Linked DNA regions of Homo sapiens: regions 2, 3 and 4 are each linked to region 1. The links are contacts of gene promoters, found by promoter capture Hi-C in blood cells and fetal thymus (Javierre and others, 2016). All regions are on one chromosome and are shown on one strand. The core of a region is centred on a gene start or on the middle of the fragment in contact, and the rest is flanking DNA. Distances in the headings are between cores, read along the strand shown.

Region 1 (3,016 bases), core at 162-2,661:
CTCATGCCTGTAATCCCAACACTTTGGGAGGCCAAAGCGGGTGGATCACCTGAGGTCGAGAGTTTGAGACCAGCCTGACCAACATGGTGAAACCCCGTCTCTACTAAAAATACAAAATTAGCCGGGTGTGGTGGCACGCGCCTGTAATCCCAGCTACTGGGGAGGCTGAGGCAGGAGAATTGCTTGAACCTGGGAGGCGGAGGTTGCAGTGTGCCGAGATTGCACCATCGCACTCCGGCCTGGGCAAGAAAAGCGAAACTCCGTCTCAAAAAAAAAAAAAAAAAAAAAAGAGAAAGGAAAAGAAAAGAAAGTGACTGGACAGGTACTTTAGATTGGGTATGTCAGGAAGTCCCGTCTGGGGAAGCGACATTGAAGCTGATAAGTGAATGTCAACAAGGCAGGCATTCTGAGCTTTGGAGAGAAGAGCACTCCAGCAGGGAGGACTACCAGAGCAAAGTCCGGGCGGCCCACCAGAGCAAAGGCCGGGAGGGCCAAAGGTCCGTGCGCCTTAAAGTGTGGGAAAGTAGTGAAGATGGGGAGACAGGAAGGCAGGGGCCAGATTTACCTTTGCAGGCTAGAGTAGAGTTTTGATTTTTTTTTTTTTTTTTTTTTGGAGACCGAGTCTCGCTCTGTCGCCCAGGTTGGAGTGCAGTGGCACAATCTCGGCTCACTGCAACCTCCGCCTACCCGGTTCAAGCGATTCTACTGCCTCCGCCTCCCGAGTAGCTGGGACGACAGGTGCGTGCCACCACGCCCAGCTAATTTTTTGTATTTTTAGTACAGACTTGGTTCCACCATGTTGGCCAGGATGGTCTCGATTTCTTGACCTTGTGATCCGCCCACCTCGGCCATCCAAATGCTGGTATTACAGGTGTGAGCCATCACACCCGGCCAAGTTTTTATTTTATTCCAAGTGTGATAGAGAGAGACATGATCTGACTTATATGTTTTGAAAGATGGCTCTGGGACTGTTATGTGGCTACTGGGCTGTCCGGAGGGGAAACTGAGACCCGTTTGGAGGAGAGGGAAGTTGGTGGCCTGGATAGAGTGGTGGCAGCAGTTCTGGAGAAAGTGGATGGATCTGGGTTATGTGGTGAGTCAGAGTGGCCAGGAACAAATGACAGGCAGATGAATTAGGGTGACCCTTAGATTTCTGGCTGCATGCAACACTCGGGTAGTTACTGGGGAACCGAGCAGACGCTCAGACACTTCCGAGCCTTGAGAAATCCGTTCTCCCGCCAGGCTTCGGTGTGAGTTAAAGTCGGGCAGCCGGAAAGCGACAGGCTCAGACCCGCAGCCGGTGGCCTCGTAGCGCCGGGACGCCGGGACGCCTGGATACCGGGAGAGCGCTGGGACTCTCCGAGCCCGGCGCGGGGGTTTCCGCATCTTACGGGCGGGGCCGGAAGAGGAAGTCGCGCTGCTGTGGCGGCCGCTGTAGCAGCGGCGGTCCAGTCGTAGCCCGGCCGCCCGCGCCTGTCCGGTCCGGTCCGGCCACGGAGGCAGCGCAGCGGCGGGACTCCGAGCCTACCCCGCCGAGTGAGCTGCGCCGCACCGTGCCGTCCCACCCGGCACCCACCAGTCCGATGGGGCCGCAGCGGCGGCTGTCCCCTGCCGGGGCCGCCCTACTCTGGGGCTTCCTGCTCCAGCTGGTAAGGGGGCGGGAAGGCGCGCAGGCCTCCCAGGGGCTGGGCGGGGCCGGGGCCAAGGCCGGGGCTCCCTTCCCCTACTCCTCGCCCGGCCTCCCCTCTGCCCGCACCTCCGCGGCCTGCTCTCGCACTCCTCTTTCCTCCCCTCCTCTTTCCATTACTCATCTCTTTCCTTCCACCCTCCTCTTTTCCACCCTCTTTCCCCCAACTTTCCCGCCCCCCACTCGGTTCCCGCCCATTGAAGTCTGGCGAAATACCTACCGCAAAAAGATCAGAGGAGCCCCTTAGGTTGCGTTGACCTTGATGCTTCTCGATAGTTGCTCACTGTCCCAGCATATTTAAAATTGACCTCTGGGTTTTATTGTCTAAGCCTTTCTTACCGCTTTTTACCCTTGGGAAGAAAAAAAAATTATACAAGGCGCCAGTATGTTTAGCGGTTCGAGGACTGCACTTTAATTGCACTAACACGGATGTCTTTTTAAAATTCCCTTCCCCCACTGTAGCTCCTGCTTCGCCTTAGGGCTCATTTGATTCTGTTATGAGGGTTTTTTTTTTTTGGAGGGGGGGTTTTAATAGCAGTAATTTAAAATAACTTTTAAAAGAAGACACCAAAATGTAATGCTTTTAGTGGTTTTCAGTTTTCTGCCTAATTTAAAGGGATGGGTGGGGAGCGTCGGTTAAATGTAAGTAAGAAATATGTGTTCATAGATTTGTTTTCATAGTCACAGAGAAGTAATAGTGTTTTAAAATTCAGCCTCAAGTAATTCGAGCTTCAGTGTGGGAGTGGGGTGTCAGGAACCCGGTGTTTCAGTTTTTGTTTCTAGTGACTTTTACTTAGGGAGTTTCAGGTTGGAAACTTACGCATGTTATTTATTACAGAATTGGTGTCGTGTAAGCTTGTTTCGTTCTATTAGAATGTGTGATTTCTTTGAAAGACTGTTTTGCTGACTCTCCAGTTTAAGGGGTTAGTATTAGTGAATACAAAAGTGTCTTTAATATTTATTGAAAAACCAAAATCTAAGCCAAAAAGTAAGTGCCTTTTGGTGTATTCATAACTTTGACAGGCAACATCAGGAACCTGAGAGAATGTATCTAAAAATTGCTGGGGGAGGGGAGTTCGATATAAAAAGAGCAACAAAGTAGCAGTGTTAGTCGGAGTCTTTAAGGTGTTTACTGTGTAATCAGACAGATAATACTTATGTCCAAAAGATATTCAGATAGTATGTAGATGTATGCAAAACTATAACCTAGATATAAAACTTTTCAAAGTGTTTTTGCATTCATTTTCATTTGAATCTCTTGAGCTGATTTTAAGAATGAATATCACATTCGTACTAATCCCTTCTCAACATAAATTAATAGCTTAGTGA
Region 2 (3,016 bases), core at 376-2,875, 2.0 Mb after region 1:
TAAATCAGCAGCAGCTTTTTTGAATGTAAGTAGTTGAAAACCCATTTCCTGCTGCTGCTTCTGCCGCAGCAGTCACTGCTCCCCAGGGAACTCTTGCTGTTGCTTTTGGAATTGGAAGTCCACAGTGGTGGAGCTTCACAGCCTTCACTTCTGTTTTTCCCGAGTATATTGCCAGAACCTGATTTTATCAAGCTTAAGAGGAGGACATTTAAGACTTATATTTTGTTGTGCACTCTATGGCATTGACTGAATTGTAAATGGTTTCTGGGTAGTAGTCATTCACTCATGATTTAGGGGCCTTCTTCTTGTAAAGCATGATATTTGGATTTCTGATATTAAAAAAAAATGAAGCAATAGGGTACTGCCTGTGCCATGTTTAATATATCACATTTGAAGTTTTGTTTGAGCTTAAGATTTTTACATTTGGCACATTTCTAGTTTATTATTATTGTCATCTTATTTTTCATGTCGGCAAAAATCTTACTGTTTTATACTCTTCAGACCACTAGAAAGGTCTATTCATAGCTTTATTACCTATTTGCATGTTTTCTTTTCCATGAATTGCTGTCATATAGCTATTTTCGGTGAATCACCATTATTTTTATTGGCCATAACTGAGTTATACATATTTTCTCCCAGTCTGTTTCTGTCTTTTCACTTTGTGTATGTATGGCATCTCTTATGTAGTTTGTCCTGGGGAGATTTTATGTGGTGTCCAGAAACCAAACATCTTTCCCTTCCCACAGGAGGACCATGTCATTAGACTTTGGCAGTGTGGCACTACCAGTGCAAAATGAAGATGAAGAGTATGACGAAGAGGACTATGAAAGAGAGAAAGAGGTAAGTTGTTAAAAAAAAAAAAAAAAAGAGACACTAAACCCAATCTTTAACAAGTTTTATTTCTTGATCAAAATTGTATCATCTTGTGTCATTTTGAAGGGATTTGGATTTTTTAAAAAAAAAACAACCCTAAAATCTGCTTGCTATTTAGACTGAAAAGGTGAATAAGTGGAATGCTTCTGTTTTTGAGACAGGAATAAAACACAACTGTGAATAATACCATCAGATAAATGGTTAAATTTTTCTTTTCATTTAGGAGGTAATGGTTGGCTTTGGAAGTGGAAGGTTAGTTTCTAGGTGCTTGAAACATTGCCATGAACAAGTCTGACAAGGCTCTTTGCTTTGGGTAGTTTACATCCTAGTGGAGGCAGACAATAAACAAGTAAACAAGTGAGTAAAGTAATTTGAGTGAGTGATAATTTATCATTGATAAATGACAGGGAAACAAATTGGAGTGCTATGAAAGCAATTGATAGGGGATTGCTGTAGATGGGGTGGTGAGGGAGGGTCTGTGGGAGGAGGCAATATATGAGCTGAGACTTGACTCATGAGAAGGAACCAGCCATGCAGAAGCCTGAGGAAGAGCAGTCTACGCCAAAACACCAATGAGTGTAAGCTGGGAAGTTGGGAAGAGACCCCGTGTATGCCACAGATCATGTGGAGCGGCCAGAAGGCCATGGTATTGGGTATATATGAGCCAGTGTTGGGTGGTGGATGTGGGTGTCAGATCATGGAAAGCCATGATAAGGTGTTTGTATTTTATTCTAAGAACAATGGGAAGCCAGTGGAGGATTTTAAGCAGGGAAAATTGATATCATATTTTTGAAGATCTTTCAGAAGGCTGCATGGTGAATAGATTATAGAAGGAAAGGAATAAAAGGGAGAGACCATATTATTTATATGTAAAGTGTTTAGCAGAATTCTTGGCACATAGCAAATGTTCAGTAAATGGTGGCAATAGTAATAGCAGCAGTAATAGTGTTATTGGTGGAAGTCAATTTAGTTGTTTTGGTTGTTTTTAGTGTAAGTCAAATTTCTTGATTGTCTGTGATAAAAGGCTTCTTTTGTCCTGACGCTATTTTTTATATGACCCATTTTCTAACATGTAAAAAAGTCTTTTTTAATAGTTATTGTGGACCATGAGTATTAACAGGAAGCAAGGAATAGGGTCAGTTGACCATTGCTCATGTGGCTGGTGGTAGAATTAAGGCAGTGATAGAAAACTGGCAACTTGCTGGATTTGGTTCAGACAGGTATTGTTGGTTGCAGAGTGCTTTTAAAAAATTGAATCTGTATTTGAAGATGGGAAAATTTTATGCAGCACTGCAGAGTCTCTGGCTTATCTAAAAAACATCCAAAGCCCTGGCCACACCTGGCCTGTATTTGCACATGGCAGCAGGCGGGCTGGAACTGAGCAGTGGCTCTCCTTCCCCAGCTGGCCACAGTCCCCACTTCTCACACAGACATGGGCTTATGCACTCAGACCTGCCTGCTTCACTCTGGTAAATTCTCTGCCAGGGCCCTGAGGGCATTTGAGTTTATGACCCTGGTGAGGGTTTCCGGATTTTGGCAGGGCCCCTCACAACAATTGTGGCAAGGATGGGAATGAGGATTTTCTGTTACTTTGAACCTGCAGCATGAGGTATTCATGACTGGGCTTGGATAGTTGGCTGGGGTTTAGCCACTGGGATTCTTGAGAAGGTCAGTTTAAATAATCACTACTGTAAAGAAGAAAAAATATTTTGACAGGTGATTTTTCATTGAGAAATATATTAGAGAGATAGGTCTGCCAGTGTATTGTGTGGTTAAAATTTTAGAGGGGATACTAGTTAAGGAGGCAATTAATTCTAGATAATATAGAAAACAGCTATTTGGGATCACCTCTTTGATAGATTGTATGCTGGGATAGGGAATTTCAGGGGAAAAGTTGTTCTTGAAAGATCAAGTATCTAAGAATGAGTATTTCTAGCAGAGTGGAAGGATATATAGCTGAATTGACTCTAACATGATGATTATGGTTAAATTTGTAAAAAACTTCATGTTAATAAAAATATTTTTACTTTAAAAAATAATTGCTGCAAGGGAAAAAGTGAGATGAGAGGCTAGAGAGGTTCAAATTTTAGTAACAAACTTCGGAACTGTTCACAAATCTTCAGCTGTATGTATACTTTGTCAC
Region 3 (3,016 bases), core at 244-2,743, 1.9 Mb after region 1:
TCGTTCTTTACTGCTATAATGGAGCAGAAGCATTTGGAACATTTTTACTGATCATGATAAAACCTGCTGATACACTTATTTTGCTGAACCTAGCCTTCTGATGTAATCATTACTCTCCTAGAACTTCAGCATCTTAGTAAGGTAACCACGGCAACATACTCATTGATAGGGCAGGTTTTCCCAGACCAGCAAATTCTTATAGGCAAAAACTTAATTTACAAAGTTTAATTTCCAGAAATTAATTTGTGAATTAGATAGCTGAAGCTGGATCATTTTCCCTTAATACTGGTTAACACATACAATAGAAAGTAGTATACAGAGAAAGTATGTATGCAATACTATTAGCCAAACAAAATACACAGAACAAGAAATTTTATTATCTCCAATGCTGGTGCATGACAAATAACAAGCTTAATTAGAGGAGGAGACAGAGGGAAACTTCAGATACCAAGGTAATTTCTGGGCAGGTTTAAAACCTTTAAAAGTTGATAGAATAACTGTTCATAAAGTCTTTTTAGATATAGCGCTTTTTACTTGACAACTTTTATTAACAGTTCTTACAATATGAAGTTCAACTAAAGTCCTTCATCTGTCAAGTTAAAACAGCAAGCAAAACAAAATTTCTCTAGTATATAACAGCATAAGCAATGGTTTGTTTTCTTTGTACATTCACACACATTTAGTGTCTAGATTTGAAACTTTTTAATTAAGGATGTCTTAATTTTTGACTTTTAAAAATGGTTATGACAATGGATTTTCTTGATTTATAGATCACAGTGGCTTTATAAATGATCAAGATACATGTACAAACAAAATTTCAGATGCTCTTGGAAACACATCTTAAGATACAAAGCACACGTGATACATATTTGAGTTTACTCATCCATTTATCTTACACTGAAAATGTAGCCTTTGATAACTGTGGCTTGACTAGATCACAAAATAGAATTTTCCAAGTTTTCTTAAGCTTTCAGTCCAAATAACTCAAAAGATATGTGTCCTAGTTGGATACATTTTTTTCTCATTATATAATTAGTATCAGTGGGCTTTTGTATTGGCAGTTTGTCTTGGTCATGACTTATTCTTGCAAAACCATCTTTACAGCAAACAAATATGAAAGATATTTTCCCCAATGCAAGGAAAATAATCTGGATCAATAACAAAGTCAAAGCCATAGGTGTTTTAGGACGTTCTTGATAATTGATTTCAACGGTCTTAAAATCTTTTTTCTTTTTCTTTAATGATTCTCTTCCTTTTTCACAACTGTGCAGTCACTGTCCTATTGTGTTCTATTCTGAAAAACAAATTTTTTTGAAGGTCAAGTTTTTCAATGGCACAAAACTATTTGGAATGAACCCAAAAGATAGCGGAAAGTTGGGTCCCTCCTCAAGTAGTTTCCTCCTCTTTTAACAGCATCTAACTACTCTCTATCAATAATCTCATCACAGCCGAGTTCTTCGGTCAGACGATTGACAACCATCAGTGAAAAAAGCTCTTCGATAAAAGCTAACTGATCAAACGGGGTCTTCTCATAATGCATCTGAAACCCGCCATCCAGGGCTGGTTCTCTTGTTCTCAGAAACATCTTGTCGGCTTCTTCAAGAGCGGCTGATACTCTGTAGCCGGCACCACTGAGCTGCTCCTCTTCGGGATAGTCGTAGTCGTCCTCCCAGTCATCAAATTCCTCGCCCTCGTCCTCGCTCTCGAAGTCTGCGCCCGCCACCTGGCCTGGCTGCTCCCCAGCGTTGGGCCCGTTAGCAAGGCTCCGTTTCCCCTCTGGCGCCGCCATTGGCTGGGCCTCCTCCTCCTCCATTGGGCCTTCCTCCTCGAGCTGTTGGGCCCCGCTGCGGGAGGGACGCAGGGATAGCTCCCGGCTCCCGCTGCCTACCTCCATCTGCGGAAGGTCACCCTCGCCAGGCATCACATCCATCTGCAGGTCACTGCTCTCTTCATACAGCTCGGACAACTCAGCCATTTCCGACATTGTGCAAACCGCTCAACCTCTAGGAAAAAGCTTCCAGCAAGACAGATGCTGCGCGGCCGTGCGTTCGTGCGCGTGCGCAAAGGCTGCGCGCTTGCGTAACCCCGCGCGCAGGCGTGGTCCTCAGGTACCGCCTCCTACTTGGCGCGCCACTGTGGTTGGAGTAGCTCAGTGTTTTCTCCGGGGTGTTGGCGTCGCCTTTTGAGCTACGTTTCCATCGATTCGAACTTCGTATCTAGGGACCCTGCATGCAAGAGCGTAACAGTTTCTGTGTTACTTAACCCTACTGCTGCTTGTAATGCTGCAAACCGGAAAATAACCTTACATGGCCTTCGTAACATTTAATGCTCCTTCCCCCCCTTCCTCTTCCCCTGGGCAATTTACCGATGTACTGATGACTTGTAAATCCACGTCTCCAAACCAGACAACATCCATAACCACAGATCAGCATATTAAGAACTAATCCATTTTGTCCTTTTAGTGTTTTCATTTAAAAAGTTAAATTCACAAACAACAGATATATTGTACTTTTTTTTTTTTTAGTTATAGTGAAGAAATACTTGGTCCCATTTCTTTTCGCCTGGGAGGTATCTTTCCACTATTAGCAATGCGGTGTGTATTCTTTGAATTCTTTTTATTTGCATTTACATGTATCTTTATGTATTGACAGCAAAATACTATTTTGTGTGTTTTTTAAAAACATGTTTTACCTGTTTTTACCTTCAACTTAAAAGCCTCAGGTTTTAAGTTGTATATACTTATATGAATTATATGACTGTGTATACTTACAGGATTCAAGCACATTTCATTTATTCTGCACTTTATTTCTATTATTATTACATTATAGTTATGTAGAATTATACAACTCACCATAATGTAGAATCAATGGGAGCCCTGAGCTTGTTTTCCTGCAACTAGATGGTCCCATCTGGGGGTGATGAGACACAGTGACACCCGAGGTGTGTTCCTTATGTCCGGTCTATTCTGTAATCTCATTTTGGTTGCTGTTACTGTGGAAAATCCTGCCTCACAAAG
Region 4 (3,016 bases), core at 158-2,657, 1.1 Mb after region 1:
TTGTAAAATATCCCATAAGGTAAAATATATTATCCTATAAATTTTAAAAATTTACAGAGTAACATTAATGTCCACTTACTCTAAGAATTTATGTTTTTTAAAAACATACATCATTCAGATTCTTTAGTACTAGAGAAAAATGGTAAAATAACTTTCCCACTTAATATTTTCTTCAAAGAAGGGTGATGGCTGCCAAAATTGCTATCTGTATACCCTGTAAGGAAGATATCTTTCAAGGGAGAAACAACACTGGTGCCCTATTGATTCGATATGCATTCCACAGCTGTAAAATAATTCTCTTATTATAAAGCCTTCTGGCATTGTGGTTTAACTACGAAGCTCCAGGCACTTTAAGTAGAAACAGGGACAAGAGAAATGCTGTGACTCCAGCAGGAAACATTTTGTGGTCTCCCAAACAGAAAGTGAACAAAAAGTCCAGAGAAACATAAAATACAACATAATTTGCTGAGAAGAAGTTAGTGGCACTAATTTAATTACTCATCAAATGAATTTTTCTTTTTCTTTTTTTTTTTAAGATTGTAAGTCCCAGTGAGTTTGAGATACAAATAAAGAGATACAAAAACGCCGGTTATAGTAGAAAAAGGCACTTGCCAAATGTACCCAAGGGGAAAAACAAAATACAGTAAATATTTTTGCTGTGTACTGATTACGCACAGATTTGCATTTTGGGTAAGAAAGCAGTATTTAAGAACAATGGTCCAATCCCTTGTTCCTGCCTCACAAATAGAAAATCTTACCTACTTCTGACTGCCACTCCAACTCACCTGCCTAAAAATGGCTTTGATCTTTGTGATCATGCCCTCAATGACTGAAAGTGCAGGATATTAAGATGCCCTCTTTTCTTGAGCCTCAGATTCTTTTAGGAATCACATGAAAATATTAAACCGCATCCCTAGAAAATGCATATACAGACACAATATTTTGCACACAATTTCAGGAGGTTTGGAGATCTCCTAGAGTCCATCTACGACCCAGGTAAGGAAGTTCCAAGCTTGGGAAGGGCCACGCATGGTGGCTCATGCCTATAATACTAGCATTTGGGAGGTTAAGGTGGGAGGATTACTTGAGCACAAGAGTTTGAGAACAGTCTGGACAACAAAGTGAGATCCCATCTCTAAAACAGAGAAAAAAAAAAAGCTTGGGAAGAGATCCTAATAGTCCCCAGAAATGAGAGTTGCAAATGCTCTGTTGGCGTCTCTTTGCTGCACATACGAAGCTAAGTTTCACCTAAACTCTCTTTGGGTTTGTCCTGGTGTTGCCTGAGGTTCTTACAGAGAAACATTTTGAGGCTTTAATAGTCCTGAGTTATTCAGATGATGGGATTCATCCTAAAAAATGAAATTTGATTGGAGTAGCTCAACCTGACTTCATTTCCCTGGGTAATGGAGTAGCTATTTAGTGGGAATGCATGTACCACTCAAAGGCCCAGGCATAGTGGGACTGAAAAATGTAGTTCCTGTGGATGTCATGAAAGTTACTGTGGTTGCCTGACATTTAACAGAAAACTACTGGTGAGTTTTTGGAGTTATCCTAGGGCACTGAAAGTGCATTCCTCCTAGAGATACCTCAGAAATATCACTTTGCAGTTCATGGACCTGCTATCCACATAACTAAATGGATATTAGTGAAGCTTTATATAAATAACCTTCCTCTAGAAAAATCAACCACCACAAATACCTGTAAGACAGTAAAAGAGAAATGTTTATGGCTCCACCTCTTAGTTCACCTATATACTCTCACTTATGGCTGAGGTGGCCACGTAGAAGAGGCCAGCAATTGTAAATCATGGGCAGCTCCCTCCAGTGGTCTCTGAAACTACATGATCAGGGCATCTGTCCTAACCGAGCCAACAGCCTGCCTCGACTGTGAGAAAATCATTGCAAATGATTTTATTGCAAATGGGGTTATTTAAAATTTTTAAAACATACTTGTTAACATCAAATATGTGCAAGGAAGTACAATTTGAGTCATGGGGGCTAAAAAGACTTAGAAAACATAAAGACTGTTCCTAAGGAACTAACAATTTTAACACCTTGATGGTGCGTCCATCATTCTGGAACTTAAGGCTAAAAATACATTAATTTTTTATTCCTCCTTCTACCCAATTTCCACCCCAAATTAATTATACTCACCAAGTTGCATCTACCTTGTATATAATCCTCTATCTTCACTCTCAAAGTCAGGATTCTAATTCAGTTCCTTATTAACTCATAGATGGGCCACAGCAATGTCTTAAACCTCTTTGAGTACTTATTATTAGTTCCACATATTTGACATGGAAAAATGCATTTATTGTGGAGGTACTTTAGTGAATCTATCCCCTCCAGCATTCAACTCTGTAAGAGCAGATTCCTTCCCTGATCTCACCTATTCCTGATTCTTATGCAACAGCAGGAACTCAACAAACACTTGTTAACTAAATCAAAACCATTCTGCAAAACACATCCAGTAAGCATCTCACTACTGAAGTATCTGACAAACTACCTTTATGGGCCGTCTGCAGCCTAGCACAAGTGGCAGGCTGGCAATTTTTTTTTCTCCAAAATAATAACAAAAAGCTTCTACCTCTTCCATTATTGTAAGCTGACTCACCTCCCAATGGAACACTATACAGACTCCCCTGTCCTATATTGTGGACCAATTCAGTATTAGAAAAAAACCACTTCCAATTTTCTTTAGAGTGTTTTTAAGAACTTGGTCACATAGGACCTACAGGTCCAACATTCATTTTTCATAATCCAAGGTAGTAGTACCCTTTTTCATATAGGATCAATGGCCTCTCCCACACCACCCGCCATATGGTAACAAACTGTCTTGCCTTCGTTTTCATGGTGCACTGGGTTAGTCCTTACATGCTGCGATCTACAGTATTGATTTTACCATCCAACTTTGTGGGCCTGGCGACTGAAAATGTTAATATACTTCCTTATTTGTCCTACATTCCCAATAAATAATTTAGACGTAAGAAACAGGCTCTTTTGCTTATTATGTAACC

The links. The method cuts DNA at HindIII sites, captures the fragments that hold promoters and counts their contacts. A CHiCAGO score of 5 or more calls a contact.
Region 2: a fragment that was not itself captured here is called in contact with the fragment with the promoter of SPPL2A in region 1 in 1 of 17 cell types (naive CD8 T cells); the score reaches 7.5 in naive CD8 T cells.
Region 3: a contact is called between a fragment that was not itself captured here and the fragment with the promoter of SPPL2A in region 1, in 5 of 17 cell types (total B cells, activated CD4 T cells, naive CD4 T cells and 2 more). The highest score is 8.3, in total B cells.
Region 4: a contact is called between a fragment that was not itself captured here and the fragment with the promoter of SPPL2A in region 1, in 3 of 17 cell types (naive CD8 T cells, non-activated CD4 T cells and total B cells). The highest score is 6.9, in naive CD8 T cells.

The regions. Positions count from the first base shown.
Region 1 is chr15:50,764,101-50,767,116 of GRCh38, reverse strand. It overlaps SPPL2A (signal peptide peptidase like 2A), which reads left to right and starts at 1,411. Exons shown (of 15, transcript NM_032802.4): 1 at 1,411-1,649. The coding sequence starts at 1,584. RefSeq lists a silencer at 1,377-1,836. The HindIII fragment of the contact is 3,596 bases long and covers 1-2,544 here.
Region 2 is chr15:48,803,387-48,806,402 of GRCh38, reverse strand. CEP152 (centrosomal protein 152) reads left to right here. Exons shown (of 27, transcript NM_001194998.2): 2 at 747-840. The coding sequence starts at 754. Among named protein-coding and RNA genes, the nearest start is that of CEP152, 6.2 kb to the left of the region's middle. The HindIII fragment of the contact is 2,862 bases long and covers 195-3,016 here.
Region 3 is chr15:48,877,145-48,880,160 of GRCh38, reverse strand. All of the region lies in intron 4 of SHC4 (SHC adaptor protein 4), which reads left to right. It overlaps EID1 (EP300 interacting inhibitor of differentiation 1), which reads right to left and starts at 2,027. Exons shown (of 1, transcript NM_014335.3): 1 at 1-2,027. The coding sequence starts at 1,984. The coding sequence ends at 1,421. RefSeq lists enhancers at 1,773-2,072, 2,343-2,452. The HindIII fragment of the contact is 1,047 bases long and covers 970-2,016 here.
Region 4 is chr15:49,621,568-49,624,583 of GRCh38, reverse strand. The region is part of intron 1 of DTWD1 (DTW motif tRNA-uridine aminocarboxypropyltransferase 1); the gene reads right to left. Among named protein-coding and RNA genes, the nearest start is that of DTWD1, 2.0 kb to the right of the region's middle. The HindIII fragment of the contact is 493 bases long and covers 1,161-1,653 here.